3 separate regions of the Homo sapiens genome follow, and regions 2 and 3 are each linked to region 1. Evidence: promoter capture Hi-C in 16 types of primary human blood cells and fetal thymus (Javierre and others, 2016). All regions are on one chromosome and are shown on one strand. The core of a region is centred on a gene start or on the middle of the fragment in contact, and the rest is flanking DNA. Distances in the headings are between cores, read along the strand shown. Region 1 holds the start of KRT71 (keratin 71). Region 2 has its middle 5.1 kb from the start of KRT4. Region 3 has its middle 17 kb from the start of KRT78.

Region 1 (4,023 bases), core at 1,255-3,754:
TTATTTCTTCTTAAAAAAAGTAGGATACCTGTACAGAACGTGCAGGTTTGTTTCATAGGTACACATGTGCCATGGTGGTTTGCTGCACCTATTGACCCATCCTCTAAGTTCCCTCCCCTCACCCCTCACCCCCCAACAGGCCCTGGTGTGTGTTGTTTCCCTCTCTGTGTCCATGTGTTCTCAATGTTCAACTCCCACTTATGAGTGAGAACATGCGGTGTTTGGTCAGGATGTTTTTAAGTGGGAGCTCACAGGTCATAAACAGATTCAAAGATTTTATGATTTGCAATTGGTTAAGGAAGAGAAACTTTGTTTAAAAATTTGGGGTCAGCAGAAAAGAGTGTTAGCTCTGGCTTGTAGGTGTGACATTCTTCAGGCCCCTCAGGAAGAAATTTAGAACAAAGAGTGGTGGTCAGAGCTCAGTGCCCAGTGTCCCTTCATCTGAGGTCTATGTGCCCAGGCATCCCTTTTGGTGGGGTTTGGGTTTCTGACAAACAACTCTGGGACATATGTTAAGGTGCTATCTTTAGTTTCTATGGCGGAACCAAACATCCCACGATTCCAGCTTTCGTGGCTGTTGTTTTGGGCTACTGTTATCTTCTTGCTTGTCAGGTTGCTTATTTATTTCTCCAGGCTAGCAAGGTGCCCAGAATTTCCCTTGAAGGAACTCAAGATTGTCCTTTATTTCCATGCTTGAGGGGACCTGAAGGCCCCTACGAGGGCGTCCCTGCTCCATCTCAGAGTGCACTAGGTGGTCTCTAATCTGGAGAAGACTCTGCTAGCCTTACAAAGAAAAACTAAGATGACATGTGACATGGCTTCAGAGGATCCCCATGGGAGCTGTCACAGAGTTGCAGCCCCACCAGCACATGCTAAGGATGTGTTCAGAGCGGAGGGAGGTAAGGAGAGCTCAGACCTGGCCTGTGTGGGTGCAGGAAGACCTCCTGGAGGAGAGCAGGATGGGGAAGTGACAGAACAAGAGATGGCGAAAGGCTGAGAGGGAAGGATGGAGGGAAGATGGATGGGAGGGATGAGGAGGGATGGAGAGAGAAGGTGAGAAAGAGAGAAGGCAGGGATAGGAAAATTCGGGTAGTTTCAGTAAGAGCAAAGAAGACAAAATGGCAGGGGCAAGAGTAGAGGAAGGAATGCAGAGGATTGGGAGGGACTGGAGTCCAGGCTCTTCCCCTAAACAATATGAGAGAGAGCCCCAAACCAGCCTGTCTCCAGATTTTCTTCCCTCCTGTGCCCCACCCAGCAAAGAGCTGCTGTTCACCCATGGGGCTCCAGCAGGGATCTCTGGGCAAGGGTGATCTTCAGGGACAGAGCTGCCTTGGGTTGAATAGGGCCACAGTGGCAATGGCGATCATGGGAGTAGCTGGGGCCCAACACAGGAGCCAGTGGCTAGGAAGCAGGGGCTGCAGCCAGAGTCTCTGGGGCTGGCATCAAAGGACTGTTTGGAGTAGAATGACATCGTGCTTACTGGGTCGCCCCCATTGGGTCTTTCTGGTCTGAGCCTGCCTGGAGGCTTGCACTCCTGGGGAGGGCTCAGCCAGCCTTGTTCTTGGCTCACTTGGGCCTGGACAGAGGCAATAGGAGTTAAGTTTCATGTTGATAACAGCTTCTTTATTTGAACTCTAAACAGATGATTACTGTCCTCAAGTTGTTCCTAGTCTTATTAGCAGATACACATTGGAGGAGAGACAGAAATGAGGAAGTGGACCACCCAGGAATCTCCATAACCCTCCAGGCCATGGGCCAGCCTCTGTCTTTGTCTTCTCTGTACCTCCTTCCAGTCAAGTCCCTGAATTTCTCAGCCACCTGCCCCAACTCCATCCTCCTTTTCTCGTCCTCATTTTCTCCAGTGTTTGAAGCCTCCAGCCTGCTTTATTATGGGTGTTTGAGGGGGGAGAAGTGAGGATAGTGCCCGTGGTTGGCTCTGGCCTGGGCTGCTTCTGTCCCATGCTAGCGAGAGGGTCACTCCACCTCCTAATACCCCATGAGTGAGAGCAGCTGCCCTCTATGGGTTATGTTTCCAGGAGGCCTGGGGAGAGGTAATGCCTGATCAGTCCCTTTCCAGGAAGGAGGAGAACAGAAGTTGGAGGCCCCAGTACTCTACCCAGTGTCCTGAACTATCCAGGAAAGTCCATCCTGTCTTCACCTGCTGCATCCCCAGGAGGAAGCCAACAACCCAGAGAAGATTAATCAGGATAGGGATGGTGCAGTGCCAGTGACATCCCCCTGGAGAGGCCAGGGCCTGGGGCAAATTACCCTATAACAGCAGGTTAATTAGATAAGACCCAAATTACATGAGCAAAGCTTGCAAGCCCAGCAATTTGAAGGTTTCATGTTGTTTCAGAGGTGGAGAGGGCTTGATCTCTAGCTCAGCATAGAGAAAATGACTTCTTGCTCCCAGGCAAGCCAAACCCACGAATTAAGCTCTTGACTGCCCATCCACAAGCCCCAGTGCCAAGCACATATAAAGGCACCTGCCAGTCCTCACTACAACCAGCAGAACCTTTTGGGATTTTGCCTTCCTCCCTCCTGCATCTGAGCTTTGTCTCCACCAGCAACATGAGCCGCCAATTCACCTGCAAGTCGGGAGCTGCCGCCAAGGGGGGCTTCAGTGGCTGCTCAGCTGTGCTCTCAGGGGGCAGCTCATCCTCCTTCCGGGCAGGGAGCAAAGGGCTCAGTGGGGGCTTTGGCAGCCGGAGCCTCTACAGCCTGGGGGGTGTCCGGAGCCTCAATGTGGCCAGTGGCAGCGGGAAGAGTGGAGGCTATGGATTTGGCCGGGGCCGGGCCAGTGGCTTTGCTGGAAGCATGTTTGGCAGTGTGGCCCTGGGGCCTGTGTGCCCAACTGTATGCCCACCTGGAGGCATCCACCAGGTTACCGTCAATGAGAGCCTCCTGGCCCCCCTCAACGTGGAGCTGGACCCCGAGATCCAGAAAGTGCGTGCCCAGGAGCGAGAGCAGATCAAGGCTCTGAACAACAAGTTCGCCTCCTTCATCGACAAGGTGGGTCTTCTAGGGCCTGGGGAACTTGTGAACAGCCCTCCTCTTCTCTTCTTGGAACATACGATTTTGTTACAGCAGGAGAGATTGAGGTTAGATGTGAGGAAGACTTTACTGTGGACAAGGTAGGTACATCCCATCAACAGGGTGACCTGTGTAAGGTTCTCTGTGTTGTCTTTCCAGAGAGAAAACAGAGGCAGGTCAATTTCTACTGGCAGAGGCTTCTCAGGGCTCCCAGCAAGAGATGTGGTCCTTCCTCTTGAGGGCTAGCTTGGTGCCATTGCTAGGCCTGCAGGCCGTGTGCAGAAAAGGCCTGTGAGAGCCAGTCTCGCCCAGAGTAAGCAGGGAAGCTGTCCTCCTCCCCTGGCATGCTGCCCTGCCCACTGGTCACTTGCCCAGCGGATCAGGAGCAGCAGGAAGGGGCCGCTTCAGGCCCTCTGATTGGGCATTTGCTCCAGTCAGTTGAAGACTTTCTTGAGAGGCAGAAGAGGGCACTGGGGAAGGGGACTCCACGGTGCTCTTGTGCTCACTGCTGGCCACAGCTGAGTGGCTCTGGGAAGGTGATCTGCCTGTCTGTGTTGCCATCTCCTCATCTCTAAAATGGAGATAATAACTTCTGTCTTGGGGTTGTTGTCAGGCTTATAAAAGAAAATGCAGGTGAAGATCTTGTCACAAGCCTGACGCACACTAAATACTCCAAAAATGATTGTGATTGTGACTCTCATTTCTTATCTCTGGAATGTGGGGGAGGGAAGCTCAGGGGAGGAATCAAAGGTGTCTAGAGACCTGAAGAGATGACACAGTCCAGATAGGCCCCTGACTTCTGGCAGAGAAGAAATGATTATCCCTATCGTATGAGTCACTGAAGGCATGGAGGTAAATGGCATTCCCAGGGTCATTTGGGGAAAGGGAAGGGTGAGGCTGGACCCTCAGCCTTTTGCCTCCAGACCCAGAGGAGGAGACTGGAGGGTTCTGTTGGCTCTGTGGCAGTCAGGCACCAAGGACGGGTCAACC
Region 2 (3,712 bases), core at 442-2,941, 270 kb before region 1:
CTAGCTGTATGACCTCGGTCAAGTTACCTAACCTCTCTGAGCCTTAGTTTCCTCCTTTGTAAAAGTGGGTTGTGATAAGAACATGTGTAAAGCATCTGGCTTATAGAGGCCCTTTCAGGAATCAGGTTTCTTTGCTTTCCCACTCCCTGACTTCTGGATTCCCAGCTTATCCTCTTGGCCTCAGTGATGTCTCTCTCAGCCCCCACATCCAGTCGGCAAGAAAAATCCACACTTAATTGGGTTTTGTGGTTTACACATACATTACTTTGCCTGTGACCATCACCACAGCCCTAGGTTCAGTAGTGGGCATGTGGTGTTCCAGTTTACAGGTGAGGCGATTCACGCTCACAGAAGTGACCTCTCATGCTGTAGTCATCCAGCTGGCTGGAGGTGGGTCAGTAGTGTCCAGGGCTGCAATTTCAAGCCCTCTGTCCTGTCACCCCAGAAGCTACCTCCGTCCTACTCCTGCCTCCATCACTCGCCAAATCTTACTGCTCCTCCCTCCATGCGTCTCTTGGTATCACCTTCTTTCCTCTTCATCTCCACAGTTCTCTACTTTGAGTCTGGACCCCACTCCTCAAGCTGTACCCAAGTGATTCCCCAATTGGCTGGCCTCTCAACCCTGCACCTCTCAGGCCCTCCCCACCCTGCTACCAAACCAGTTGGCCCGACCCGAGGCTGTCACCACTCCGCTCCCTTCCTTGGCAACCTTAGGGCTCCTGGCAGTTGCTGGGATGCATCCCACACTCTTCCGGCCTGATCACTCTGTCCTCCTCAGAGGAGCCCCGAAGAGCCCTGAGAAAGCTTCCTCCAGGGCTGTGGAAGGCCAGCAGAGGGATTTTCAGCCAAACCCTAACCTCCAGCTTAGGAACACAAAGGCCTAGCGGTTTAGGGTCAGCTCTGCCTCACCAGCTTGGGTGGTCTCTAGCTTCCCTTCTCAGACAGATGGAGTATAGTCCACCCCATGTACAACACTTTGAGGAATACTTGCTAATGCTCACTGAGTGCCAACTGTGTGCCAGAACTGCTGTCAAGCCTTTAACTGATTCTCTTCACAACAGCCTATAATATAAATACTATTATCATTCTAATTTTGCCTATAAGGAAAATAAGGCACAGAGTGGTTAAGTAACTTGCCTAAGGTCACACAGCTAGGAAGTAGCAGAGCTAGGTGTGGAATCCAAGCAATCTGGTTCCATAGCCCAAGCTCTTAAGCACCAGGTTATTTTGCTTATATAGAAAAAGGAATGGAGACCTGGGGATGCTGGAGCTAGAAGGGGCATTGGATGTAATCGACTCCAAACTTTTTATTTCATAGATAAGAAAACAGGTTGAGGAAGGGGAAGAATGTATCCAAAGCCACGGTAACTTAGTGGCAGTGTTAAAAAAAAAATCAGTTTTAGTGAGATCATAGGCCAGGTGTTGTGGCTCCTGCCTGTAATTCCAGCACTTTGGGAGGCTGAGGCAGGTGGATCACTTGAGCCCAGGAGTTCAAGACAAGCCTGGCAACATGGTGAGACTCTGCCTCTACAAAAAAATACAAAAATTAGCTGGGTTTGATAATGCATACCTGTAGTCCCAGCTACTTGGGAGGCTGAGGTGGGAGGATCACTTGAGGCTGTTGAGGCTGCGGTGAGCTGTGATTGCACCATTGCACTCCAGCCTGGGTGACAGAGGGAGACCCTGTCTCAAAAAAATTATATTTAGGGCTCAAAAACTGAACAATAGAAACTTTTGATTGTCATGGAAAAAAGCCTCAGAGATTATACTGCAGCCCAGGGGGGCCCACCAACAATAATGCGCTGCTTAGACATACTTGTCGAAGGAGGGGAATGGCCCAGACCCAGGGGTTTCCAAACTGAGGACCCTAAGGGCTGCTTTCAGGGGTGCAGGGGGAGGTCAGCAGGTGAGAAGGATCATGGTCCCTCCTCTGCACCAACTGGATCATCTCTCCTTATCTGTTTTACTCATGAGGCTGTGCACGTGATTTTGTTTATGAGGGTGCTTTTGCTGCCAGAACATGCTGGGAAGCCCCTGCCTGTATATGCCTGGGGTAGGAGGCCAGCAGGGGCAGCTCTCCGGCCCGGGGAAAGAGGAGCCCCTGGGTACAGACCCCCATACCTGGCTCTCAGGAGTGCCCGTCCTCTCATTGCCCTCACTGGCCTCTCCCTAAAACGCTGATGGCCCTTTTCTGCAGAATCTCTGATCCCCGTGTTGTCTCTGGTTCCCCAAGAATGACTCAGGCCCGGTGGGGCAGTTGAGGTTGGGTGACCGAATGGAGTGAGGGTGCCCGCCTGGCCAGGGAGGGCAGGAGCACTTTCCCACACCACACAGTGGGTTTGGAGATGAGAGTGACAGAAGCCCTCAGGATCCCTTAATCCCAGGGCTGAATGTAAGGGCTTGCCTCCCTTACCCAGAAAGCCCTGAGCAAACACTCCCTCCGCCTGGCTCCACACCCCTGTCGGCTGCTCATCCCTCTGTGAAAAGATTGGGAACAGCTGCCAAACAAGGAAGGGTCACCGAGGGCAGTAGCAGAATCTGCGTGTGGAGGTCTGGGGAGGGGCAGGGGACAAGCTTCCAGCTGTGGCTGCTGGGTAGTGGCGCCTTGTTCAGCCACCTGCCTCTGGCCCACATATGAAGGCAATGTCTTTCCCCGTTTTCAGGGAAAGAAACTCATCTCTCTTTCTCTCTCACTCTAGGGTGTAAAGGCGCTCTTGCATAGGAAGTTCTTCCTTAGGTCTACCTTCGGTTTCTCAGGCTCAGTTTGAAGATTTTGTGAGCTTCTTGCAATTCTGATTTAATAATAAGGACACAGAATGTGGCTCTAGACTAGAACTTTCTTCTTGTTTGGATTGGGTTTATGGTAGGGTTTGTCATGAAATTAATTTGGATTTAGTTAATTGGAGGATACAAAACTGGCCCCTCAGGACAGTGTCATACCTTATTGGGTACTTGTAAGGACAGGGCCACATCAACCAAGCAACTGACCATGTGCTGAGGGTAAGGACAAAAAGGAGCGGAGCTGCATCTGCAGAGCTTGCAGCCTGCTGGCCAGACCCCATGGCTGTCTTGGTGGACCATGAGGTACAGGGCTGTATAAGTTGCTGTGTATTTTTTTCCCTGCATATTCTGTGTGGGCCAGTCACTCATATAAAACATTATACCTACCGTTTTATACATTGTAAGGTCACAAGCTTTGAAGTCAGACAGATAGTACTGACTTCCTATCTCTACCACTTCCTGGCTGTGTGATCTCAGGCAAGTTACATACCCCTCTGAGCCTCAATATCTGCAGCTCCAAACTGGACATAGCAAAGCACCTCTTTGACTGGGTTGTTGGAAGAAGCACCTAGTGTTCAGCATATAACAGTAGTTCCAAGAGAGAATCCCTTCTACCCAAGAGGCACCGCTGCCTTTCCTTCATCTTCCTTCTTGTATCAGCGATGGCACACCTCAAGTCACCTTCATGAGAAGTACCTCAATCGTAGCTCCATGGTTTGGGTGCCCCACAGGCACAAAATAAGACTGATTACATATTCTATATTGTTTCCCTGAAAATCCCCTTGGCTCCTGGCTTGCTTTTTGTTCTAAGCAGTAGACACAACTCTAGGGGCAGTGAACCCATGCCATTTTCTCCTAGTGTTGGAGTGTTACAGCCATAGAGTAAAAGACCCAATAAGCACACTATGAGCCATCTCAGGGATTCACTTGT
Region 3 (3,626 bases), core at 1,084-3,583, 310 kb before region 1:
TAGCCCCTGTGATTTTACTGGCCCGCACATGCCCCTGCATGATCATAGATGATCTCTGCACCTTCGCACTCATGCTCCCCCCCCATTTATTTACACACATCTTACAAGCTCCCTGTATACCCTTGTCCCTACACATTTTCTTTCTTTCTCTCTGTCTCTTCCCCTCTCATCTCAGGGAGCCAGAAGGGATGGTTGTCCTCAGATGACAGTGAGAGCAAGAGGAGATCCAGGCAAGTCAGCATCTAGTAGGCCAAGCCTGGTGGGGAGTGGGGCTCAGAAGATAGTAATGATAATAATGATAATAATAATAAAATCGAGGCCGGGCGCGGTGGATCATGCCTGTAATCCCAGCACTTTGGGAGGCCAAGGCAGACAGATCACGAGGTCAGGAGATCGAGACCATCCTGGCTAACACGGTGAAACCCTGTCTCTACTACAAATACAAAAAATTAGCTGGGCCTGGTGGCGGGCGCCCGTAGTCCCAGCTACTCTGGAGGCTGAGGCAGGAGAATGGCATGAACCTGGGAGGCGGAGCTTGCAGTGAGCCGAGATAGCACCACTGCACTCCAGCCTGGGTGACAGAGCGAGACTCTGTCTCAAAAAAAAAAAAAAAAAAAAATCGAATAGTTGGTGGGCACTGCTGTGCTAAGCACTGTTCTGAGCACTCTGCACGTGTCATCTTGGTTAACACACACAACAGCCCTAGGATATAGGAATGATTATCCCTCCTTATTTATTTATTTATTTTTGAGACAGAGTTTCGCTCTTGTCGCCCAGGCTGGAGTGCAATGGCGTGATCTCAGCTCACCGCAATCTCTGCTTCCCGGGTTCAAGTGATTCTCCTGTCTCAGCCTCCGGAGTAGCTGGGATTACAGGCATGTACCACCATGCCTGGCTAATTTTGTATTTTTAGTAGAGATGGGGTTTCTCCATGTTGGTCAGGCTGGTCTCGAACTTCTGACCTCAGGTGATCCACCCGCCTCAGCTTTCCAAAGTGCTGGGATTACAGGCATGAGCCACCACGCCCGGATTTTTTGTTTTTCTTTTAGACTGAGTCTTGCTCTGTCACCCAGGTTGGAGTGCAGTGGGGCGATCTTGGCTCACTGCAACCCGAGCCTCCCAGGTTCAAGTGATTCTTGTGCCTCAGTCTCCTGAATAGCTGGGGTTACAGGTGCCTGCCACCACGCCTGGCTAATTTTTGTATTTGTAGTAGAGATGGGGTTTTGCCATGTTGGCCAGGCTGGTCTCGAACTCCTGACCTCAGGTAATTCACCCGCCTCAGCATCCCAAAGTGCTGGGATTACAGGCATGAGCCACCATGCCTGGCCGATTATCCCCTTATGATAGCTGGAAAATGGAGGAAGGCACAGAGAGGTTAAGTCGCTAGCTTGAGGCCGCATGGCTAGGCCGTAGTGAAGACAGTGTCTGAACCCATAGTGTCAGACCCCTGATCTGATCTTGACCATCAGCCCCTAGGGCCCCTCTCTCCCTGATCCTCAGCCTCATTTTGTGTTCTGCCCAAGGCGTCTCCAGGATCCCAAGAGAGCTTCCGAGAGAGTCTATGCACTGTGAATTTTCCCAGGTTGGCCCAGGGCCTACTTGGACTTCTCAAGGTCTAGAAAAAGGCCTGGGAATCACCAGCGCTCTGAGTCCCCATTTGGGGGCCTCTGGCCTTATCCCCACATCAGGCACCAGGGAGGTGGTGGCACAGAAGAGGCTTCCAGGAAGATCATGAACTGCCCCTTGCTTCCATTCCAGGCGTCCAGCCCAGCTCCCAGGCATCTGGGTTGCAAGAATCCTGGCCACCTGCAGGGGGAGTCAAGAGTGGGAGAAACTGGCTCCTGCTCCTGCTCCTGCTTGCAAGGAAATACCGGGAATGGGTCTGGGCCCTGGAAAATCCTGGACAGGTGTCTGAGAGCAGGACTGGATTAAACTGGGCTGCCTGGTGAACCACCATCTCTGGCTCCTATGGACTCCAGTGTGTGTATGCGTGATCGTGTGCCTGTGCGTGTGTGTGTCTGTGATCAGATGAGGTTTCTAGACCAAGGCTCAGATCTCCTCTGGGGAAGATATCAGGCAGTGGACTTGTGAAAACCCCTGAGAATCTTGCAAGAGAATATTCTGAGCCTTTCACAGTAATCTAAGGATGTGTTTATTGACAGATATGGGGGGAAAGCCTGCTTAAATTCATATGTGTAATATGATCCCACTTATGGGAAATATATATATATATATATATATATATATATTTTTTTTTTTTTTTTTTTTTTTTTTTTTTTTTTTTTTGAGACAGAGTCTCACTCTGTTGCCCAGGCTGGAATGCAGTGGCACAATCTTGGCTTACCGCAACCTCTGCCTCCTGGATTCAAGCAATTCTCCTGCCTCAGCCTCCTGAGTAGCTGGGATTACAGGCGTGCGCCACCATGACTGGCTAATTTTATATTTTTAGTAGATATAAAAACTATATTTTTATATTTTAGTAGGGTTTCACCATGTTGGTCAGGCTGGTCTCGAACTCCTGACCTCGTATTGTGATCCACCTATCCCAGCCTCCTAAAGTGTTGGGATTACAGGTGTGAGCCACTGTGCCTGGCTTTTTTTTTTTTTTTTTTTGAGATGGAGACTCACTCTGTCACCCAGGCTGGAGTGCAATGGCATGATCTCAGCTCACTGCAACCTCTGCCTCCCTGGTTCAAATGATTCTCCTGCTTCAGCTTCCCCAGTAGCTGAGATTATAGGCACCCGTCACCATGTCTGGCTAATTTTTGTATTTTTAGTAGAGACAGGGTTTCACCATGTTGGCCAGGCTGGCCTCGAACTCCTGACCTCAAGTGATCCACCTGCCTCGGCCTCCCAAAGTGCTGGGATTACAGGAGTGAGCCACCACACTGGGCCTGGAAATACGTATTAATATGAATAGATGATGCATCTATTGCAGTAGAATATACTGCTATATGAGACACATGAGTATGGTCACACATTGCATAACAAGGTCTCTGTTGTATGTATGGTGCATATATGACAATGGTTCCATACATTATAATGGAACTGAAAAATTCCTCTTGCCTATTGACATCGTAGCCATCATAATGTATCAAAAGGCATTACTCACGTGTTTGTGAAGATGCTGGTGTAAAAAACCTACTGTGCTGCCAATTGTATCAATATATAGCACATGAAATTACATACAGTACATATTATTACTTGATCATGGTAGTAAAGGACTATGTTACTGGCTTGTATATTTACTCTACTTTTTATCATTATCTTAGAATGTATTCCTTCTACTTTTTTTTTTTTTTTTGAGATGGAGTCTCGCTCTGTTGCCCAGGCCGGAGTGCAATGGCGTGATCTCGGCTCACTGCAACTTCTGCCTCCTGGGTTCAAGCGATTCTCTTGCCTCAGCCTCCTGAGTAGCTGGGACTACAGGCATGTGCCACCATATCTGGCTAATTTTCTGCATTTTTAGTAGAGACGGGGTTTCACTGTGCTAGCCAGGATGGTCTCGACTCCTGACCTCGTGATCCGCCCACCTCGGCCTCCCAAAGTGCTGGGATTACAGGCGTGAGCCACTGCGCCCGGCCCTTCTACTTATTTATGTTTTTTTTAGAGGCAGGGTCTCACTC

What was found. Contacts are between HindIII fragments. The CHiCAGO score rates a contact against its expected background, and 5 or more counts as called.
Region 2: a contact is called between a fragment that was not itself captured here and the fragment with the promoter of KRT71 in region 1, in 8 of 17 cell types (endothelial precursors, naive CD4 T cells, total CD8 T cells and 5 more). The highest score is 8.0, in endothelial precursors.
Region 3: a contact is called between a fragment that was not itself captured here and the fragment with the promoter of KRT71 in region 1, in 9 of 17 cell types (endothelial precursors, naive CD4 T cells, total CD8 T cells and 6 more). The highest score is 9.4, in endothelial precursors.

The regions. Positions count from the first base shown.
Region 1 is chr12:52,551,626-52,555,648 of GRCh38, reverse strand. It overlaps KRT71 (keratin 71), which reads left to right and starts at 2,504. Exons shown (of 9, transcript NM_033448.3): 1 at 2,504-3,012. The coding sequence starts at 2,572. The HindIII fragment of the contact is 3,012 bases long and covers 2,319-4,023 here.
Region 2 is chr12:52,817,358-52,821,069 of GRCh38, reverse strand. No RefSeq gene overlaps it. Among named protein-coding and RNA genes, the nearest start is that of KRT4, 5.1 kb to the right of the region's middle. RefSeq lists an enhancer at 2,350-2,851. The HindIII fragment of the contact is 1,770 bases long and covers 807-2,576 here.
Region 3 is chr12:52,863,702-52,867,327 of GRCh38, reverse strand. No RefSeq gene overlaps it. Among named protein-coding and RNA genes, the nearest start is that of KRT78, 17 kb to the right of the region's middle. The HindIII fragment of the contact is 5,339 bases long and covers 1-3,626 here.